Regions from separate parts of the Homo sapiens genome. Here region 1 is linked to region 2. The links are contacts of gene promoters, found by promoter capture Hi-C in human tissues and cell types (Jung and others, 2019). All regions are on one chromosome and are shown on one strand. The core of a region is centred on a gene start or on the middle of the fragment in contact, and the rest is flanking DNA. Distances in the headings are between cores, read along the strand shown. Region 1 holds the start of PHF23 (PHD finger protein 23). Region 2 holds the start of SLC16A11 (solute carrier family 16 member 11).

What was found. The method cuts DNA at HindIII sites, captures the fragments that hold promoters and counts their contacts. A contact is called where the count stands out against the background at its distance.
Region 1: a contact is called between the fragment with the promoter of PHF23 here and the fragment with the promoter of SLC16A11 in region 2, in 1 of the 25 tissues and cell types used here (adrenal gland).

Annotation. Positions count from the first base shown.
Region 1 is chr17:7,238,099-7,245,981 of GRCh38, reverse strand. It overlaps PHF23 (PHD finger protein 23), which reads left to right and starts at 6,525. Exons shown (of 5, transcript NM_024297.3): 1 at 6,525-6,736. The coding sequence starts at 6,703. GABARAP (GABA type A receptor-associated protein) reads left to right here and starts at 3,533. Exons shown (of 4, transcript NM_007278.2): 1 at 3,533-3,741; 2 at 4,303-4,381; 3 at 4,522-4,640; 4 at 5,063-5,974. The coding sequence starts at 3,652. The coding sequence ends at 5,128. It overlaps CTDNEP1 (CTD nuclear envelope phosphatase 1), which reads left to right. Exons shown (of 8, transcript NM_001143775.2): 7 at 1,347-1,431; 8 at 1,737-2,391. The coding sequence ends at 1,797. RefSeq lists silencers at 2,771-2,880, 3,471-3,660, 6,258-6,397, 6,448-6,627, 7,778-7,883 and enhancers at 3,273-3,824, 3,825-4,376, 6,058-6,147, 6,275-6,924. The HindIII fragment of the contact is 12,207 bases long and covers 1-7,883 here.
Region 2 is chr17:7,042,842-7,050,132 of GRCh38, reverse strand. It overlaps SLC16A11 (solute carrier family 16 member 11), which reads left to right and starts at 6,041. Exons shown (of 5, transcript NM_001370549.1): 1 at 6,041-6,358; 2 at 6,614-6,821; 3 at 7,060-7,203. The coding sequence starts at 6,620. It overlaps LOC124903909 (a long non-coding RNA gene), which reads right to left and starts at 7,066. Exons shown (of 2, transcript XR_007065598.1): 1 at 6,893-7,066; 2 at 2,553-3,951. RefSeq lists enhancers at 3,033-3,082, 3,153-3,222, 3,283-3,352 and silencers at 6,435-6,564, 6,635-6,694. The HindIII fragment of the contact is 14,065 bases long and covers 1-7,291 here.

The DNA.
Region 1 (7,883 bases), core at 5,276-7,775, 200 kb before region 2:
TGAGAAGGTATTTTTGCAGGAGACCTGGGCTTTGGTCCTTGAGAGCTGGGATTCCCTAGATTATCCCTAGTTTGCTGTAAGTCGAAATGCAAGTTATTTTTGTGTTTCAAATGAGATACCATATATGTCCATTTCATAAGTCGGATTTCTTATATCATTTTTTTCATTTTTAAAATTTATTTTTGGCTGGGCACGGTGGATTATGCTTGTAATCCCAGCACTTTGGGAGGCCGAGGCAGGCGGATCACGAGGTCAGAAGTTCGAGACCAGCCTAACAAACATGGTGAAACCCCATCTCTACTAAAAATAGAAAAAACTAGCCAGGCGTGGTGGCGCACGCCTGTAATCCCAGCAACTCGGGAGGCTGAGGCAGGAGAATCGCTTGAACCCGGGAGGCGGAGGTTGCAGTGAGCCGAGATTGCACCATTGCACTCCAGCCTGGGTGACAGAGCGAGACGCCGTCTCAAAAAAAATAAATAATAAATAAATAAAAATAAAATTTATTTTTATTTATTTTTTGAGATAGGGTCTCACTCTGTTCCCAGGCTGGAGTGCAGTGTCATGATCATAGCTCACTGCAGCCTCGATCTCCCAGGCTCAAGTGATCCTTCTGCCTCAGCCTCTCAGTAGTTGGGACTACAGGCGTGCACCACCATGCCCAGCTAATTTTTTTATTTTTTATTTTTTTTTGAGACAGAGTCTCGCACTGTCACCCAGGCTGGAATGCAGTGGCGTGATCTCGGCTTACTGCAACCTCCGACTTCCAGGTTCAAGCAATTCTCCTGCCTCAGCCTCCCAAGTAGCTGGGATCACAGGCACCTGCCACCACGCGCAGCTAATTTTTTGTATTTTTAGTAGCGACGGAGTTTCACCACGTTGGCCAGGCTGGTCTTGAATTCCTGACCTCGTGATTCGTCCGCTTTGGCCTCCCAAAGTGCTGGGATTACAGGCGTAAGCCACTGCCCTTGGCCAATTTTTTGATTTTTAGTAGAGAAGGGATCTCATTATGTTGCCCAGGCTGGACTCAAACTCCTGAGCTCAAGTGATCCTCCCACCTCGGCCTCTCAAAGTGTTGGGATAACAGGTGTGAGCCACTGCGCCTGGCCAAGTGTGTTTCAAGTGAGGCACAATGGCAGTAAGCTTGACTAGAAGCATCAATAGGTATGAGATCTGGTGATTAAAACTTAGTTTCGGAGCATAAACCAGGAAAGTTTTACTTAGGTTGTTGACTTCCGGTAGTGGGAGGCATATATTTTTAACAATAATTCCTCCTTCCCTCCAAGAAGAGAAAAACACCGTCTCTCTTGAATTCTGTTTCTTCTCATCTGCATTTTCACCCACCCTAGACAATGCCATCCCCATCAAATCCTGGTTCAGTGACCCCAGCGACACAGCCCTTCTCAACCTGCTCCCAATGCTGGATGCCCTCAGGTAAGGGAAGTGGGCTCTGGACACTTGGATATCTCAAGAAAGGAGGAGGTGGGGGATCCTCAGAGGGAATAAAAAAGGTTTGTCCTGTTTTAACTCTGTTCCCTTAAGAATTTAACATTTGGACCCAGGTCGTCTTACTTCAAAGCTCATCACTTTAGCTAGTAGGCTGTGGGCAAATTGAACCTATCTAATCATGAATATGGTGATAATTTAGGTCCCACATCTCCAGTGATGCTGCCTTACAAGAGTGTTGTGAGGGTATGAACTATAAGGTACTCTACCAATGCAAGTTATTGTCACCCCAGGTTCACCGCTGATGTTCGTTCCGTGCTGAGCCGAAACCTTCACCAACATCGGCTCTGGTGACAGCTGCTCCCCCTCCACCTGAGTTGGGGTGGGGGGGAAAGGGAGGGCGAGCCCTTGGGATGCCGTCTGATGCCCTGTCCAATGTGAGGACTGCCTGGGCAGGGTCTGCCCCTCCCACCCCTCTCTGCCCTGGGAGCCCTACACTCCACTTGGAGTCTGGATGGACACATGGGCCAGGGGCTCTGAAGCAGCCTCACTCTTAACTTCGTGTTCACACTCCATGGAAACCCCAGACTGGGACACAGGCGGAAGCCTAGGAGAGCCGAATCAGTGTTTGTGAAGAGGCAGGACTGGCCAGAGTGACAGACATACGGTGATCCAGGAGGCTCAAAGAGAAGCCAAGTCAGCTTTGTTGTGATTTGATTTTTTTTAAAAAACTCTTGTACAAAACTGATCTAATTCTTCACTCCTGCTCCAAGGGCTGGGCTGTGGGTGGGATACTGGGATTTTGGGCCACTGGATTTTCCCTAAATTTGTCCCCCCTTTACTCTCCCTCTATTTTTCTCTCCTTAGACTCCCTCAGACCTGTAACCAGCTTTGTGTCTTTTTTCCTTTTCTCTCTTTTAAACCATGCATTATAACTTTGAAACCAAAGCGGCCTTAGGTCCTTCTCTGGGGTTTTGGGAAGTGAAGAGAGGGGACTTTGTTCACATGCACCCTGTCCCACAGGCAGAGGGGGAAGAGACTGCTGTTGGACTCAAGGGGCAGGGGGAAAGGTGGCGTTGAGTATAGGGATAGAATAATGCGGACACCAGATGCCTGGGATACAATAATGCTGACACCAGATGCTTTGGCGGGAAGGGCCGAGTGACAGGATGGGCGCGCTGGTGGGGAGTGGAAGGACACCTTCGGAGAAGCAGGCTATGGAAGCACGAAAGGAGAAACCGGCTATGGAAGCACGAAAGGAGAAACCTGGACGGCCAAAGGGCGTAGAGCTGGAGAAACCGGGCTTCGTCCGGGGCACTGACGTGGACAGGTTAAGCGGGCGCTGCCCCCAGGTGGCTGGCGCCCCGACCTCCGCTGTCCGGGAAGGCGTCGGTCCCCCTCCCAGCTGTCGCCCAGCCGGCCCCGCCTCCCCGGCGCCCTCCCAAGCCGGCCCTACTTCGCGCACCCGCCACGTGACGCTCCGCCCTCTTTGAGATCACATGATTTAACTCAAGTCCCGCAGTGTTCCTCCGCGCTGGCGTAGTCCCTACCTTTCCAACCTCCTCTCCAGTCCCTATTGGTCTACTCATTTTGGCACTTAAGCGTTCTGTAGATCTCTCCAAACATCTGTTTTCTTTTTGACTTCTTATTTCTGGAGATCATCTCCGCCACTTGGGTACTACTTTGTTTTGGTGTCAACGGCCGCCTTCAGCGTAGCAACACGGTTCGTGAATAGCTAACCTTGTAATTGTCCCTGCTGTTCCTCTACGTTGTTAACGAAAGGAACTTGGAGAACCAAGTCTCGTATGATGATTACCATCTTTTACTCCTCTTCAGCCCCAGCTTCCTTGAGGGGACGGTTGGGGAATAGGTTTAGAGTAATTTTCGATGAGCAAAAGCCAACCGTCTTTGCTACGTCGCCTGCGTAGCCCACAAATTGATTCCAAAGCGATTACGCTAATGGCGTGAGGGGGCCGGTCAGTTGGTGGTGCTACGCTAGCAGCGTTAGCGCCGCTGAGGTAGTGGCGTATCTTAGCGGGGGGGGCAGTCCCCGATAGTCGGGGGCGGGGTTGGTGAATAGGGAAGTGGCGCAAATTCGTGGATCGCTCCGCTGAATCCGCCCGCGCGTCGCCGCCGTCGTCGCCGCCCCCCGTCCCGGCCCCCCTGGGTTCCCTCAGCCCAGCCCTGTCCAGCCCGGTTCCCGGGAGGATGAAGTTCGTGTACAAAGAAGAGCATCCGTTCGAGAAGCGCCGCTCTGAGGGCGAGAAGATCCGAAAGAAATACCCGGACCGGGTGCCGGTGAGGACAGTAGCCAGGGCCGAGGGCGCGGGACGCTTACGCTGACGCCACAGCCTGGCCTTGGATCGGGACAGGCAGCGCAGGGATCAGGCTGCTGGCTGTGGTGGGGTTGGCAGCGAGCCTGAAACTGCTGTCCTTGGGACCCAGGATGAAAGGAGTGGGGTAGTGGTGGATGTGGGGTTGAGAGGGATGTGGACAGGAGAGAGAAACCTTAGCATTTGAGGCCTTAGAGAGTTTGACAGCCTGAGCTTCAAATGGTCATCCCCCCAGCTAGCTAAGGTTGCGAGATTGAATCACTAGTCGACCCAAACAAGTCACCTCCGTCTGATTAAGATAGTTGTTTATGGTGACGCCCTATTGGGGGATGGATCCTGGATATTTAAATGAGCTCCAGTCAGTGAGGTCAGGATCTCTGGGACTCAGTGCTGCACCGCGTGTACAAAGACAAAGAGATGAATCTGGGGTAGATTTAGGTGCTAGGAATATTGTTTCTTGAGTTCTTGACAGGTGCAGCTTCGGGGCTGCATTCCTTCTGTCTCCTAATTTTCATCTCTTTATCAGGTGATAGTAGAAAAGGCTCCCAAAGCTCGGATAGGAGACCTGGACAAAAAGAAATACCTGGTGCCTTCTGATCTCACAGGTGGGAACCTGATCCAAGACTCAGGCTTGCTTCCTGTGGGTGGGAGTGCAGTCTCTGCGGGAGGAGGCTCCACCTAGCAGCTGTTCTTTTGAGGGCATTTTTGACCTCTGTGACTTTCTTGCATCTTGTATCTTTTGCAGTTGGTCAGTTCTACTTCTTGATCCGGAAGCGAATTCATCTCCGAGCTGAGGATGCCTTGTTTTTCTTTGTCAACAATGTCATTCCACCCACCAGTGCCACAATGGGTCAGCTGTACCAGGTATGGTGACTGGGAAGTGGTGGAGGCTTTGGAGAGGAATCTTGGAAGAGCGTGAGGGGAAGAAAGTGTTGTTACATCAGTAGTTTTGGACTAGCTTCCTGGCTTGCCTTAAAGTTTCATAATAGCCGTGGGTTGGGGGTTTGGACAGAACAGTAGGAGTAGAGAGAAGGAAAGAGAACAGTGAGCTAGAGAAACTATCTGTTCGGGACTCTTCCCAGTCCCCCTCCCCATTCCAAAGCAGCAGAAAACAGTTTGAGGCCTTTTTGCCCAGGACTGCAGAGATTATACTGCTCGTGTGGTAGGCCTTGGAGTCAGTGAAGGAGTCAGGCAATGGTTTGTGGTTCTAGAAGAACGTGTCTGGGTCGTGGTTGGTTTAAGTTACTGGAGCCCAGTTGCTGAACAGTTTTCTGCTTTCATCCCAGGAACACCATGAAGAAGACTTCTTTCTCTACATTGCCTACAGTGACGAAAGTGTCTACGGTCTGTGAAGCTGCTGCCCCTGAGCTGGAGGGGGGTCTCATTCTACAAAGAGAGAGGTGGCCCCCCTTTCTTGACCTCCTCCTCCTTCAAGCTCAAACACCACCTCCCTTATTCAGGACCGGCACTTCTTAATGTTTGTGGCTTTCTCTCCAGCCTCTCTTAGGAGGGGTAATGGTGGAGTTGGCATCTTGTAACTCTCCTTTCTCCTTTCTTCCCCTTTCTCTGCCCGCCTTTCCCATCCTGCTGTAGACTTCTTGATTGTCAGTCTGTGTCACATCCAGTGATTGTTTTGGTTTCTGTTCCCTTTCTGACTGCCCAAGGGGCTCAGAACCCCAGCAATCCCTTCCTTTCACTACCTTCTTTTTTGGGGGTAGTTGGAAGGGACTGAAATTGTGGGGGGAAGGTAGGAGGCACATCAATAAAGAGGAAACCACCAAGCTGAACTGAATTTTGCCTTGTGTTGCTCCCCTCGTCCCGCTGATTTTAAGTCTTTCCAAGGTGTCAGTGGGTTTCAGTGGTGGGGAAAGAAGAGTACTGGGTACAAGCTGGAGGGATAGAAGTATATTTTGGTTTATTCTGTTCATGTTGGGCTTTTCCCTGTCTGCAAAAAGAGGGTGCTTTTGTTGTGATGGAATGGAATACTGAGGATTATTTCTTGAAACTTTAGTTTTATAACACGCATGTGAAACTAAATGTTAAAAATGCTCATGTAAAAAAAAATTTTTTTTTACTGTGGGTTCCTGTGGAGAAAGTTCCGAAGTACCTGCTTTAGGTGAACATCCACATTTGCTAGAACATTCTAACTAAGATATTTTCATGTGTGCAAGCTAGTAAAACGGCTGTTCTCAGTTGCATGTCACTTGGCTAGACTTTTGCCGGTGTGTGGGATCCGGCAGAGTGGAATCAGGGAGGGAGAAGACTGGGAGCGGGAGCCATTATCGCCAGGAATACTTCAACTCCCAGCAATCATTTCTCCGGCAGGCCGGAAGTGGGGCGGTCCTCCTGGGGAGAAAGAAGCTGCAGAACGAGGCAGTATGGTGGCCGAGAGTTCTAATCCCTTCTTCCTCTTCTTTCTTGGTCCCGCCCAGCCTACATCTCCCAGGGGCCTGCGCGCGCACTTCCGCTCTCCCCTCCGGCTCCTGGTCTCCCCGCCGCTCCCCGGGGGAGGGGAGCGGCTTGGTGCGCCTGCGCCAGCCTGTGGCTTTCTGGGAATCAAAGTTCCGGAGGTTCATGCGGTCCCTTTTCCGCTGTTCCCGGACGGACTACAAAACCCTTGGTGCACTGCGCCTCGGCGCCGGCGGGGGGAGGAGGGAGAGAAGAGGAGGGAGGGAGGAGAGAGGAGGTGGAGGAGGAGGAGGAGGGAGCAGGCGGCCGGCGGCGCGGGGGGAGGGGGCCCGGTCCGGGAGTGCGGGAGGCAGTGGTAGAGGGAGGTGGCGGCAGCGGCTAGCGGACTCGAGTCTCAACCGGGCTGAGGCGGACACTTCTGTGGAGCGAAGCAGTGGGAGCATCGAGCACTAGAGGCGGCACCGGGATCCCCGGCTCCGGGGAGGGGGGCGCCGGACCGGGAGGAGGGGAGGGGGCGATGCTGGAAGCCATGGCGGAGCCCAGTCCCGAAGGTGAGCTCTCGACCGGTGCAGAGCGCTGAGCCGGCGGGGGGCGGGCGAGGAATCAATTGGCAAACTTGGAGGTCGAGCCCCGGAGCCCAGCGGGGGAGTTCGGGGAGGGGGTCGGGAGGCTGGCCCTGGAGGTGGGAGAGCGACGAGTTGAGAGACCTTGGAGAAAGAGGAGTGGGAAACTGGGCTGGGGTAGTTGGAGATCAGACGGTGTGGGGGTGCGGGGGATAGGAGCTTGAAACCCGGAGCCTCGGGGGTTAGGGCCCGAAAGGGCCACCGGCAGATTGGGGCCCTGGAACTGGAAGGTTAGGGGAATCCAGTGGCCGGAGAGTTGCTCAGGAGGGAGGACGTAGAAGAGGCTGAGTGAGGGGCCCGGTAGTTCGCCGAGGTGGGGTAGTTTGTGGCGGTGGTACCGGAGCTCCGAGTAGTTGCCGCCGGAGAATGCCCGGTGATTGTCGGAGAGGTGGGCAGGTAGTTGTGGGGAGAAGAGGGGGTCTGGGTATTGTCTACGGCAGACGGACCTGTACCGGGGGGTAGTTGTGGAGAGAGCGAGCCAGGAAGCGAGGCGAGCTGGGTAGTTGTAGGGGGTGGTGGGGCGGGGTGGGGGGGGTTAAGACCGGCGACTTGTCGGGCGGGGGGGTAGGGTTGGTCCGCGAGGGTTAAGAGCCTGGGAGTTGCTGAGGGTGAGGGGGGCATCGGCGGCAGCAGCGGTGGCTGCTGTGGAGAGAGAGAGAGAGTGGCTGGTTGGGGGGAAGGGGCCAGAGTTGAGGGGTCCATAGCCTAGTAACTGGGTGGTGAGTACGGGGGCGGAGGGGGGGGCGGCGGCCGGAGAGGGCTAGGAACAGGGCCGGGGGGCCCGGTGGGGAGCCCGAAAAGCTGGAGACGGGGAGGGGCCAAAGCCCCGGATGGGGGCGGAGGGACGGCGAAATTGTGGGGAGCGCGGTATGGGCGGGGGGGGGGGGGCAGGTGGGGGCCGCGTCCGGGTTAGAGCTCCCGGGTCTGTCCCGGCCGTGAAGTAGCGTTGGATGCGTGTGCCTGTGTGTGTCTGGGGTGGGGGTGAGGGGCGCGCCGGGCCGCGTGCTCGAGTAGAAGGGGCCGGAGGGCGGGGAGCGGTTCGGCGTGGTCATCCTGGACCCTGGGGGCTGGCGGG
Region 2 (7,291 bases), core at 4,792-7,291:
ATGCTTGACACTCTTTTACGATCTCCCTATAGACTTCATCTAGCTCAGCATCTGCTTTGAGGGCTGTCCCCACATGGGCAGGCCTTCGTGGTTTGGTCCATCTGCGACTCTTTCCTGTACCACTGCTGCATTCTGTGGAGCACCAGGCACGGAGTCCACTCATTCAATGACTCCTTTGTTCAATGTTTCTCTCATTCAGTGATTCATCACTCACCTTTGGCATCTTTGTGTGTGAGAATTCCAGAAATCGGGCTGGGCACAGTGGCTCACGCCTGTAATCCCAGCACTTTGGGAGGCCGAGGCGGGCAGATCACGAGGTTAGGAGATCGAGACCATCCTGGCTAACACAGTGAAACCCCGTCTCTACTAAAAATACAAAAAATTAGCCGGGCGTGGTGGTGGGTGCCTGTAGTCCCAGCTACTCGGGAGGCTGAGGCAGGAGAATGGCCTGAACCCGGGAGGCCGAGCTTGCAGTGAGCCGAGATTGTGCCACTGCACTCCAGCCTGGGCAACAGAGAGAGACTCGGTCTCAAAAACAAAACAAAACAAAACAAAAACAAACAAACAAACAAAAAAAGTAGAATGAAAAATTCTGCATGAATTTTTAACATAAAACAAGATATTTCAAAGAAATTTCCCACATGCAAAAGGCGAACTCTCCTTGCGCCTCTGATTGTGGCATGACTCATCTCTCCTCTGTATTCAGCTTCCATTATTAGTGAGTATTAGTGAGTGCTACTTCATTGGACATTTTGGAGTAGTATCAGCCTCTGGAGGAATATCCTTAGCCTGGCCTTCAAGGCCTTTCAGACGGGACCCTCTGCCCAGCAGCTTAATCCTACATTATCCTCCTACACATGCTCGGTTCTCCACACAGCGGCTATTTATAGCTCCCCAAACAATAAACAATGTGCCAAGCTGGTTCATGCCTTTGTGATTTTCCACAAGCTGCTTCCTTTGCCTGGAACGCCCCTGCCCACAGATCCATCTGGCAAACTCCTACTCATCCTTCAAGACCCAGCCCAAGGGGCTCCTCTTCTGTGAAGCCTCCCAGCAGTCCTAAGAGGAATGAGTCAGTTCTTCCCATGCACCACTCTACGGTGTATGTGTCCCCGTCCTTGTGCTGAGAATTCTTTTCTTTATGTGATGATCCTCTGATTTGATTGTGGGGCTGGGAGGGGAGAGACTATATCTTATTCACATTTGTATCCCGAACCCTAAGCATAGCAGCTGGCACGCGGTAGCTGTCTATAAATATTTTGTATGAAGGACTGAATGAATAAAACTTATTTTGACTTTTTTCTTCTCTATTATTTTTTATTTATTTTTATTTTTGAGATGGAGTTTTGCTCTTGTTGCCCAGGCTGGAGTGCAATGGCGCGATCTCGGCTCACGGCAACCTCTGCCTCCCAGGTTCAAGCAATTCTCCTGCCTCAGCCTCCCGAGTAGCTGGGATTACAGGCGCCTGCCACTACGCCTGGCTAATTTTGGATTTTTAGTAGAGACGGGGTTTCTTCATGTTGGTCAGGCTGGTCTTGAACTCCCGACCTCAGGTAATCCACCTGCCTTGGCGTCCCAAAGTGTTGGGATTACAGGTGTGAGCCACTGCGCCCGGCCTTCTCTTTTGTTTTTAGAGTTAAGGCAGGGAGACCAGCATTTTCACACAAACTTTGGAAAATGCTAAGGGAAAAGAAAGAAGAAAAGCAGAAATTTCCATTGAATCTCTTTATAGCCATTCACATTTTCTAACCCATGTGGCTCTACTGAGAACTTACCAGGGCAATGTGGTGCCTTGACCTTGAGGCATGGGCAGAGGTAGCCAGGTGGGAAAGGGCTGCCGTGCTGTTAGGTCCAGCCAGGTTCCTCAACTCACAGCAATAGCGGCAATGGAGGCTGAGCGCGGTGGCTCACACCTGTAATCCCAGCACTAAGGGAGGCTGAGGTAGGTGGATTACTTAAGGTCAGGAGATCAAAACCAGCCTGGCAAATATGGTGAAACCCCGTCTCTAATAAAAATACAAAAAAATTAGCTGAGTGTGGTGGCGGGCACCTGTAATCTCAGCTACCTGGGAGGCTGAGGCTGGAGAATTCACTTGAACCTGGGAGGCAGAGGTTGTGGTGAACCTAGATTGTACCACTGCACTCCAGCCTGGGCAATAGAGCAAGACTCTGTCTCAAAAAAAAAAGAAAAAAAAAAAAAAAGAAAGAAAATAGCGGCAATGAGCTCTAACACGTATACTTTGGCACTGTTCTAAGTTCCTTACTTATATGTGTATTCACAGTGACTCATTTAATTCTTATAACAACCCATCAGGTAGCTACTGTTATTACCCCCATTGTAGAGATGAGGAAACCGAGGCACAGAGAGGTTGAGTCACACTTGCTCATAATCATATAGTTACTAAGTGGTAGAGTGTGGGCGAAAGATTACGTAGATGCCGAGGCAAGAGACTGAAGGCACAAACTGTTTCAGTGTAATAAAGAAAATAGAATAAAAATAGTCATAATACAAATGAGATATAGAGATGATCATGGACAATTATCAATCATTATTATAGACATTATTAATCATTAGCTTTTAATATTACTTTTTGTTGCATTACTAATATAACCTACGAATAACCGGCAGGTATAGGGTCAGGTGATGAAGGGACATTGTGAGAAGTGACCTAGAAGGCAAGAGGTGAACCTTCTGTCACGCTCGCATAAGGGCCGCTTGAGGGCTCCTTGGTCAAGCGGTAACGCTAGTGCCTGGGAAGACACCCATCACTTAGCAGATCGCGAAAAGGAGTGTCCTTTCCTTGGAGGAGTCAGGGAACACTCTGCTCCAGCAGCTTCTTGTGGAAGGCTGGATATTATCCAGGCCTCCCCGCAGTCATCCGGAGGCCTAAACCCCTCCCTGTGGGGCTGTGCTTCAATGCTCACGCTCCTTGTCCACTTTCATGTTCCTCCCGTACTCCTGGTTCCTCTTTGAAGTTCGTAGTACAGAGCGGTAGATGAAATAGTGAAAGTCTAAAGTCTTTGATCTTTCTTATCAGTGCATAGAAGAAAACGCTGACGTATGCTGCCTTCTGTCTCTACTTCGGCTACCTAAAAGGGAAGGGCCCTCCCGTCCTGTGATCACGTGACTTGCTGCACCTTGTCAATCACTTAGAAGATTCACCCTCCTTACCCTGCCCCCTTGTCTTGTATGCAATAAATATCAGCGCAACCAGCCGTTCGGGGCCACTACCGGTCTCCGCGTCTTGATGGTAGTGGTTCCCAGGGCCCAGCGTCTTTTCTTCTATCTCTTTGGCTTGTGTCTTTATTTGTTACAATCTCTCATCTCCGCACACGGGGAAAACACCCGCCAAGCCCCGTAGGGCTAGACCCTACAGTAGAGCTGGCATTCAACCTCAAGAAATCTAGCTTGGGAGTCCATTCTCCTAATCTCTGTGCTATTTTACCTCCGTGAGCAAAAGATGACAAGTTTTGCTAAGAATATAGGGAGCCTGAGGTAGAAGAGGAATGTGCTCTTTCACAGCCCTAGTCCCAGGCTCTGGGATACCCTTCTGGCTTCGTAAGCATCCTGCGAAGGTGCGCAGCATCACTTAGCACAACTCCCAGATGCGGAGGGCCCGGTCTTCGCTCTGACTGTCCTGCATTTCTGCGTCACCATGGGGAGACAGTGATTCGTTTAGCTTGGAGCAGAGTCTTCAGCAGCCTTCTCAGGAAGCGGGATCCCTGCCCTCCCCGGTAGCTGAGGACCTGCTGGCTCCGCCTCCCTGGTGGCTTTCATAACAGCACTCCAGGCTGGGGAAACCGGTGGGGCCACTTTCCTAAGGTGTGTCTGTCAGGACCTTCATGAACAACAGGACGTTTCAAGCAGAGAGCATGACATATGCAAAAATTAAGGAGTGAGAAAAAGCTAGGCATGTCCACAGAGCAGAGAAGACAGTGGCTGATGGGAGGCTGGCAAAAGGGAGAGAGGGGAGATGGTTTGGAACGGTAACCTAGGTCTACCTTTGATTATTGTAAAAGACCTGTACAAATAGAGAAATGTAATTTTTCCCGTCTATAGGCAATGGAGAGCCATTGCCTATAGTCATGCTGTGTCTTTTATGTTTACAGTTTTGCTCCTTAAGAAGCTGTTTTTCTTGTCTTTACGTGCAGATTCTTTCCCAATAATTAGGAAACACTGCCATCATGTGGCTCAATGGATGCATGCTCCAAACTTAAGTTGCTGAATGTTCTATCATATTGTTTAATAATTAAACCAAAGAACACATCTCTGAATTCAAAGAGCTGAGGTAAAGAATGTCAACCTATCAAAAAAGGACATTTTCTATAAAGTTTTTCAAAAAATCAATACCTGGCTTCAATGACCTGATTTTTTACTTTGCTTTTAAAATTGTAACCTGGCCAGGCATGGTAGACTGTAATCCCAGCACTTTGGGAGTCCGAGGTGGAAGGATTGCTTAAGTCCAGGAGCTTGAGACCAGCCTGTGCAACATGCTGTGACCCCCTCTCTACAAAAAAAATGAACAAATTTAGCCAGGCATGGTGGTGTGGAGCCTGTAGTCCTCGCTACTCGGGAGGCTGAGGTGGAGTATTGCTTGAGCCTGGGAGGTGGAGGCTGCAGTGAGCCATAATGGCAGTACTACACTTCAGCCTGGACAAGACCCTGTCTCTATAAATAAATACACACACACATACATACATACATACATACATACATACATACATACATACATAATAAAAAATAAAATTCTAACCTAAGTGTTTAGAGATTCTGATCTCAAGAATCCTTTCTATTCCCAGTGACCCCTTATTTTAGACTCATAAGTTTTCTGTCCCTGCAATGGTTCCACCCTTTCCAGGGCAGTTTGCTTCAAGCTGTATCCAGGATCTTTCCCTTAACTGTGCCAGATTTTGTTTCAGTCCTGGGATTGTTCTCCTTGTAGGTCCACAGTTGGACAGACCTAAATTCAAATATCCATACCATTTTTTCCCTGAGAGCTTCAGTTACTGCATCTATAAAAGAGGCACGACATCGGCCAGGCGCGTTGGCTCACTCCTGTAATCCCAGCACTTTGGGAGGCCGAGGTGGGCGGATCATCTGAGGTCAGGAGTTCCAGACCAGCCTGGCCAACATGGCGAAACCCCATCTCTACTAAAAAATACAAAAATTAGCTGGGAGTGGTGGCAGGCGCCCGTAATCCCAGCTACTCAGGAGGCTGAGGCAGGAGAATGGCTTGAACTTAGGAGGCAGAGGTTGCAATGAGCCGAGATCTCGCCACTGTACTCCAGCCTGGGCTACAGAGTGAAACTCCATCTAAAAAAAAAAAAAAAGAAAAGCGACACCTTCTTCATAGGGTTATCATAAGATGAAGTGATAGCATGTGTAAACGGTGCCTGGTACACTGCAGGTCTTCACATTGAGGGAGTCGTGTTTCATCCCTCTGTCCTTGAGGACCTGTTATTTTATTTTATTTATTTTATTTTTGTTTATTTATTTATTTTTGAGACAGAGTCTTTCTCTGTCACCCAGGCTGGAGTGCAGTGGCATGATCTTGGCTCACTGCAACTTCTGCCTCCCGGGTTCAAGCGATTCCCCGCCTCAGCCTCCCAAGTAGCTGGGACTACAGGCGCCCGCCACCACACCCGGCTAATTTTTTTTGTATTTTTAGTAGATATGGTGTTTCGCCATGTTGGTCAGGCTGGCCTCGAACTCCTGACGTCAGGTGATTCACCCACATCGGCCTCCCAAAGTGCTGGGATTACAGGCTTGCACCGCGCCCGGCCTGGGGGTCTGTTATTCTAAGCACAGAGCTGGCACTTGGTGGAGGTCTGTGATCTGATTGATATCCGAGATTTACCTGGTCCTCGGCAACGTTCCTGAGAACAAAACTACTCATCCCCTCAGGTTTTGGGGACCATCCCTATTTCCACGCGTTGGCGGTGGACCCTGGGCTCGCTGGGGTTTGCAATCCACGTGTCTCCCCTGCGCGCAGCAGGCGGCAGGTGCATGCGTGTGAGTAGGGCAGGGCCCCTCTGCATTCATTTCTCGCCGCTCCCCCCTCCCCCGGGCCTGGGGGTTGTGTGTGTACATAATTCAATCCCCGTGGGACTGGCGTCTGGCCTCACGCGCGGCTTGCCGGATTGGCTGTTTCAGCTCGCCCCCGCCCTCCGTACACCCCGCGTCCCAGGTGGCTCAGGCCCCTGTGGTGATCTCTGTTTACCGAGAGAGCCCGTCCAAGTTGGGCTCCATCGCTGCCCTCGCTCCCCTTCGGGGCCCCCGCCCGCCTGGGAAGCAGAGAGAAAGCCGGGCCCAGCCCTTCCTCACCCTTCCCCTCCCCGCACCGCCCGGAGAGGTCGGGTAAGGGGGAAGGAGTGTGCGTGGGACGGGGAACCTCGGGCCTGGGGATCTGGCTGTCCCCGTCCCCGTACCTCGCGCGGACCCGGGAGTTCCAGCCCTAGGCCAGGCTCCGGCTCCCTCCGCCCCGCGCCATCGCGCTCGGAGTGACGGGCCCACCCCGGGCGAGCAGCCAGAGGCTGGATCTCAGGGATGCCAGCTCCCCAGCGGAAGCACAGGCGTGGAGGCTTCTCTCACAGATGTTTCCCCACCCCGCAGACGGCGATGACCCCCCAGCCCGCCGGACCCCCGGATGGGGGCTGGGGCTGGGTGGTGGCGGCCGCAGCCTTCGCGATAAACGGGCTGTCCTACGGGCTGCTGCGCTCGCTGGGCCTTGCCTTCCCTGACCTTGCCGAGCACTTTGACCGAAGCGCCCAGGACACTGCGTGGATCAGCGCCCTGGCCCTGGCCGTGCAGCAGGCAGCCAGTGAGGGGGGCCCTGAGGCGGGAGACAGGAACGGGGAGGAGGAGCCGTGAGTGGAGGGATGGGAGACCCACCTGATTACCCGACAACCTGAGAAAGGGCAACCGGCTCTAGAAAAGAGTGCATCTTGAGGTCAAGGAGAAGAACCATTAGTTCGAGGGAGGCAAACAGCCAATGAGAAGTGTTGGAGAGAGTTTGGGGGCCCGGGGGCGTGTCTTCCGTTGACTCCGCCCCCTTTCAGGCCCCGTGGGCAGCGCCCTGAGCACGCGCTGGGGGGCCCGCCCCGTGGTGATGGTTGGGGGCGTCCTCGCCTCGCTGGGCTTCGTCTTCTCGGCTTTCGCCAGCGATCTGCTGCATCTCTACCTCGGCCTGGGCCTCCTCGCTGGTGAGGGAAGTGGGATGCCCGGGTCATTCAGGGTGAAGGAGGTGACAGGAGCTTGTTGGGATCTGGGGTAGCGAACGAGGCGGGGGCC